Regions from separate parts of the Homo sapiens genome. Here region 1 is linked to region 2. Evidence: promoter capture Hi-C in 16 types of primary human blood cells and fetal thymus (Javierre and others, 2016). All regions are on one chromosome and are shown on one strand. Each heading gives the region's core, a stretch centred on a gene start or on the middle of the fragment in contact. The rest is flanking DNA. Distances are from core to core; before and after follow the strand shown. Region 1 overlaps PIP5K1B (phosphatidylinositol-4-phosphate 5-kinase type 1 beta). Region 2 holds the start of PABIR1 (PP2A Aalpha (PPP2R1A) and B55A (PPP2R2A) interacting phosphatase regulator 1).

Evidence for each region. The method cuts DNA at HindIII sites, captures the fragments that hold promoters and counts their contacts. A CHiCAGO score of 5 or more calls a contact.
Region 1: a fragment that was not itself captured here is called in contact with the fragment with the promoter of PABIR1 in region 2 in 3 of 17 cell types (naive B cells, neutrophils and total B cells); the score reaches 6.5 in naive B cells.

What each region holds. Positions count from the first base shown.
Region 1 is chr9:68,822,722-68,825,630 of GRCh38, reverse strand. The region is part of intron 4 of PIP5K1B (phosphatidylinositol-4-phosphate 5-kinase type 1 beta); the gene reads right to left. Among named protein-coding and RNA genes, the nearest start is that of PABIR1, 44 kb to the right of the region's middle. RefSeq lists an enhancer at 1-116. The HindIII fragment of the contact is 3,268 bases long and covers 26-2,909 here.
Region 2 is chr9:68,778,659-68,781,673 of GRCh38, reverse strand. It overlaps PABIR1 (PP2A Aalpha (PPP2R1A) and B55A (PPP2R2A) interacting phosphatase regulator 1), which reads right to left and starts at 1,609. Exons shown (of 1, transcript NM_138333.5): 1 at 1-1,609. The coding sequence starts at 1,509. The coding sequence ends at 646. All of the region lies in intron 2 of PIP5K1B (phosphatidylinositol-4-phosphate 5-kinase type 1 beta), which reads right to left. RefSeq lists silencers at 1,349-1,588, 1,706-2,120 and an enhancer at 873-1,701. The HindIII fragment of the contact is 10,001 bases long and covers 1-3,015 here.

The sequences.
Region 1 (2,909 bases), core at 410-2,909, 44 kb before region 2:
AAAAACACAATGGGTCATCAAAGCTTCTTAGTAAATCTGTGCATACCTTATGATCAGGGCTTCAGGACTGGGAAAGAAATTTAAGGTATTTGTAAAGGGAATAAGATGTATGGTGGCCTTGACAACACTTGTGTAGTCTGTTTGCTATCATTTACAATTTTTTTGTCATTTGCATTTGCAAAGCACTGCTTTTATGCTTTCATTAAGGTCATGGGTGAACATGGTAAGCTACCCAGGGCCAACTCATGCATCATGCTGGTGGAAACCGAGTGAACAGGGAGCAAAATTGCCAGTTTTCGAGACCATCAGTCCAACCAGATACAAACACAATAAACATAATATTTAACCCATACTTATCCACCTTGTCTGAAAGGAGACTAGCGAATCTTTTAGACACCTTTAAATCAAGACTCATTAAATTTGAACATACTCTTTATGAGTAATTTAATGACTCTCTCAAAATAGGAAATGCAGTTAGTTTGAAATAAACTACATCTTTATGAATTTCTCCAGGTTTGTAAAAGATATGTTTCTTCTCTAAATATGTATAAACCATATGTTTAATAATAATGCTCAAATTATACTGGGGAATAATGTCTCACTTATAATCTGGTTTCCAGAATGTACTCTTCCTCATTTTTGAAAATAAGAATAATATTTGCTTATGTCCTGTTTTCTGACAATTTTCCCATTCTGAAATTCATTTAAAGCTCACATTCAGAGGTTTTCCTATTCTAGCTTTAAGTTCTTTCATCTGGGAAATGGTTTATCTGGACCTGGAGATAAACACATTTGCAATAGCTAACTCCTAAGTCCACCATGAACACCTTCTCTAGTTTGAAGATCAGAGAACTAAACCGAATAATTCAGCTGAGCTTTTACCTGCCAGTAAAACAACACTCTCTCTAAGCGATTCCTTCTTCTTGCTATTCATATCAATACCATATTTATTAAGGGCTGAAGTTCTAAGTGCTGTGCTGGTCTTCTTGGTGCTTTTTAAGAGAGGCTACGTACATCTCCTTCCATTGCTTATACTTTTTAAAACCAGAAATCATTAATAAGATCCTGATATTATTACACATAAAAAATTGTTCATTAAAAAAAATTTCTGGTCCCCTTAGGTTTTCTGTGTCTTTCCTTATTTCTCCTACCATAGAATTTGATTTTTAGTTTTTACAACCTAAAAAACATTGCTGAGTTAAATATCCTACTGGAGACATTAATCATAGAATTACCTATACTAATTATTGAAAACCTGCTTGACTAAATAAATTCTTGGGCAGGGTACACTTAGCAAACTCTGAGATGTCATGGTCACATTTTTTCTATAACTTTTGCAGCGACAAAGGATCTCCTGTGAGTCAGAATTTGGTCAAGAATTTCAGTGCATCTTGATGCTGATTGAGAATACCACCTGAAACTGATCTGAAGTAATAACAGGCTAGCAACGTAATCATCTCTGTGTTGGTCCATGCTTGAATGAATGTACACGGAATCTTGGGTAAACGAGACAGGATTTGGTTTTTCACTTGTGTCTAAAAATAAATAATAGTGTATTGTTGCCTCTGGCCCAATGTACAAATTTTATAAAATATACTGCGGCACTTCTGAGCTCTTGAATCTTTACCCAACTCTTTTCCAACCACACCATCACTTTGAATGACAACCTCCCAGTTTGTATTTCAAGGTTTGGCTGAGTGGAAAAATCAGATAAAGAAGATATGCCAGGAAAAAGGGCACATTCTCCCATATGAAAATGGAATAGAAAATACATCATGCTAGTTCCATGACCTGAATATGTGGTCAGAGCCCATAGCTCATGTACTTTATGACTAAACGTCTTGCAGGCTGTCCATCAAAGTATAAAAGGAAAAATTAAGAAATAATAAACCTTCAATACACAAACCTCCTACTCTTAAGAGGGCAAAATAGCAAGAACTTTGAAAAGCTAAAATGTATAGTCAATTTATAATCAGGAGTAGAGGTGCTTGGGAACATATTTTACCCAGTAACGTGTTTGAACATTAGCTTGGTAGCTGGGAGTCGAGAATTTATCAAAGACTGGTAAGTTAAGATACATTAGGAAGTCTGGAAAAAGACTTTTTGTGAAATGGGCTGAAGACATAAAATCTGAGCGGCTTAGAAAAGGTGGGGAAGAGGAGCATCTCACATTTTAAAAGTTTTAAAATACAAAGGTAGGAAATGTTTTAAATGTTGGTGGAAAGTAGTGAGTCCATTAAAGGATTCATATATTATACACAGAACACTGCATGCCCTCAGGAGCCTTCTTCTTAGGAATAAGAAGGGTCTTCAAACAACTCTCTTCACTCAATATTCTATATTATGGTGAATTGACCCCCAAAGATTCCCATGCTCTAATCCTTGGGACCTGTGAATATGTCACCTTCTAAGGCAAAAATGAATTCAAGTTGCAGAGGAAATTAACGTTGCTAATCAGCTGACCTTTTAGATAAAGAATATTAATTTTTATTAATATTTTCCCATATTTCTGTGAGCCTAGGAGGGCTCAATGCAATCACACAGGCCCTTTAAAGTGTCAGAGTGATACAGCCTGGGAAAGACGCCACCGGCCATTGCTGGCTTTGAAGATGGCAGGGAGCCATGACACAGGGCACGCAGGGAGCCTCTAGAAGCCGGAAAAGACAAGGAAGTGGACTCTCCCCTGGAGTGTCCAGGAAGGAATACAGCTCTGCAAACACATGGATCTCAGCCCAGGGAGACCCATGTCAGGCTTCTGACTCACTGAACTATAAGATAATGCATGTATGTTGTCTAAGCCACTAAATTTGCAGTAATTAGTTATAGCAGCAACTGGAAACTAAGATAGTAACTTACAACTGCTTGGGAGAAGGAAAGGCCTTTGATAATATTCACGTGCCAAACAGCAA
Region 2 (3,015 bases), core at 360-2,859:
AAATGTTTTTCTTAAAAGTTTACTTTTATATACTTAATTTGAAAAGATTTGTTCAAACTTTTATAATTTGTTCTTTAATCATTCCCCCTCCCATCCACTTCAGTACCCAGAAAACTAAATATCCAAGAATTCCTGGGTAAAACAGACAACCACTAGATAGATATAACTAACGTATTTTTTTAAGCTGTATAGTTCTTCATCAAATGGAAATCGGCAACCACTGAAAATAACATTAAAAATTAGTGTGGGCATGAAGTATGGAATTTTAAACATCAGTTTACTATGCTGATTAAGTCAACATTTATATTTTCATCAGAACTTAATAATCCCATAAATAAATAGAGCTCTCAGTTATTTAAAAAAATCAAGGGATAACATATGTATTTAGACATATTAGCAGCGTAAAGATGTATGCTTCAACACACTTATTGGGGAAACGTCTGAAAATATTACTACACTGAATTCAAGGGTATCCAAAGGAACCTGACATAGAAGTTCTCTAGAATAACATCATTTCAGGGAATTTCAAAAAAGAAAAGGGGTCAAATAGGAAATAGCCTCAAATTAATTGACAAAGTTCAGTGTTTGCCCCAACTAGATTATTCTCTCTCTCCACTGCAAAAAGAAAGTCTCAGGATGAGTGAATCACTTAGACGAAAGTTCATCTAGTGGAATAAATGGAGAAGCCGCTTGGGCAGGTGACACAGGAGAGTCGGTGGTAGTGCTGACTTTCGCTGGTGAGTTACAAGAAGATCCGGCACTGCTGCTGTTTCCATCAAGGGTATCCGAAGATACACACACACCAGGATCTGACAGCTGTGCAACGTCAGAAGAAAGCATGTTGGTGATGCCCTGGAAAAATCTCTTTGGCTGATATTCAGTTTCCATTTCACATTTTCTTTTCAATGGTCCAAGAACACTTGGTCTAATGCAATTGATGGGGCTCTGGCTTCTCCGGGTGGTAAATCGGGTCGTTGGGCTGGGAATAGGGCTTGGAGGCAATCCGTTGCTACTTACAAAACTTTGCAAGGATGGCGAAAAACACTGCTTCCCAATTCCCCGAGTGGGTGACGGTGCTGGTGACACAGGAATGAAATCGATGCGCTTGGGGGAGGCGGATTTCTCCACGTCGTTGTCACTCAGGCTGAAACTTTCCTCCCAGGAGTGGCTTATCTGCATTGCGGTCTGCACCTCCCGTTCGTGGACCGTCTCTCGGTTGATCAAGTCCATGCCCTCTTCTTGTTTGATCTGGTGCAAGCGGCTGCTGTGCATGCGGACAGGGGAGGCCGGCAGCAGCAGGCCGTGGCGGCTCGGGAACGTTGTGCTGTTCCGCCTGGCGCTCGGCGCCTCGGCCTGGAACACCGGCGAAGTGTCACTGAGGCCGTGGATCAGGGGGGCGCTGTTAGACCTCCTGAGGCCCCCGCCGCCGCCGCTGCCACCGCCCTCCGCCGGGCTCCCGCCCGTACCCGGAGGCAGCTCCAGGTCTAGCTCCATCTTCTCCTGAGCCATGTCGGGGGCAGGGAGGCGGGGGAGGTGCTCAGTCAGGGACCTAGGATTCCCATTCCCCGCAGTCCAGGGCCGCCGCCGCTGCCGCCGCCACCGAGAATCTGTCAGCGGGCTGGCCCCTCTGCGCATGCGTAGCCCTTCGCGCAGGCGCTCGCGATGTCCGTACTCGCGGCGCCTGCTTAATGCGTAATATGTGCGCGGCAGTGGTAGGGGAGGGGCGAGGAGTGGTCGGGCCGCTAGTCCGTATATTCCTTCGGCAAATAGCTATTGAGCGCAAGCTCGCGTTGACGCATGTCAATAAGATTGTCATATTCTGGATTGCATACTCATAAAACAAAGCCCTGAAAGAGAGGCCCATGGTGATGTGGGGCTGTATGACGTGGAGTGGCGCTTGGCCTAATCAGGGAGGGCTTCCTCGAGGAAGGAACAATCTCCTGAAATCTGAAGAAGTGGGCGAAATGGGTGCGATGTAGAACTTTGCAGGAAGCGGGAAGCAACGGCTACCCAGCCAGTTGGCAGGCGGGAACCAGGAGGGGAGGAGAAAGTGTGGCCTGGAGTGGAGAGTGAGGGCTGGCCTGACGTGAGGTGGTGGACCAGACCACATTCTGGTCTTTATCTTGAGAACAATGAAAACTTAAAGGGTTTTCAAGCATGGGTGTAACAGCAACTGAAAAGCTCACTGGCCTGCAGTCTGGAGAATACATATTGGGAGATTAAAACCTTACAGAAAAAAGGCCAGAGAGGATGGTCATTTGCACTAAGGTGACAGTGTGGCAGTGGAGATGGAGAGAAAAGTAAATCTGAGAACTATTTAGGTTAGGGGAAGAAGCCAAAACAGAGGATGGTATTGCTATTGATTTACAGTCATAGTTCCAGCACAAGCATATGTGTGAAGTATGAAGGATTAAACCAGTAGGTCCTCACATTTTAAAAATGAAACCACAATTCTTGGCTCATGTAATTAATATAAAACCTTGATATCTCATTAAAAGTGAGTTTATTTGTTCATTTATTCAGTCAGTCAAGGTTTTTTTTTTTCAGCATACTTACTATGTGCCAAACACTGCTAGGAAATGGGCCCTAGTATGAACTTTTAATTCTTACTGAGGGGAAAATAGAGAAACGCAGGCTATTTTCAGATAGTGGTAAGCCTTAGGAAAAGTAAGATGGTGTGATGGAGCACTACTGATAGAAGTCAGGGGACAATTAGAGTTGAGATCTAAATGACAAGAAGCAGTAAGTCACGTGGACATCTGGGGAATGAGTATTCCAAGCAGAGAGAATAGCAAGTGCTAAGGCCGGAGGCAGCCATGAGTTTGATGAGTTAGCAGAAAAAGAAAAAAGGGCAGTGCCGCTGAAGCATAAGAGCGGGAGTGTTAGGAGAGGGTAAGAGTTGGATCTCATTCTGAATATGATGAAACGCCACTGGAGGGTTTTAAGCAGGGGACTGATATTATCTGGTTTATGTTTTAAATATCACTTAGGCTCTGTGGAAAACAGGCTGAAAGA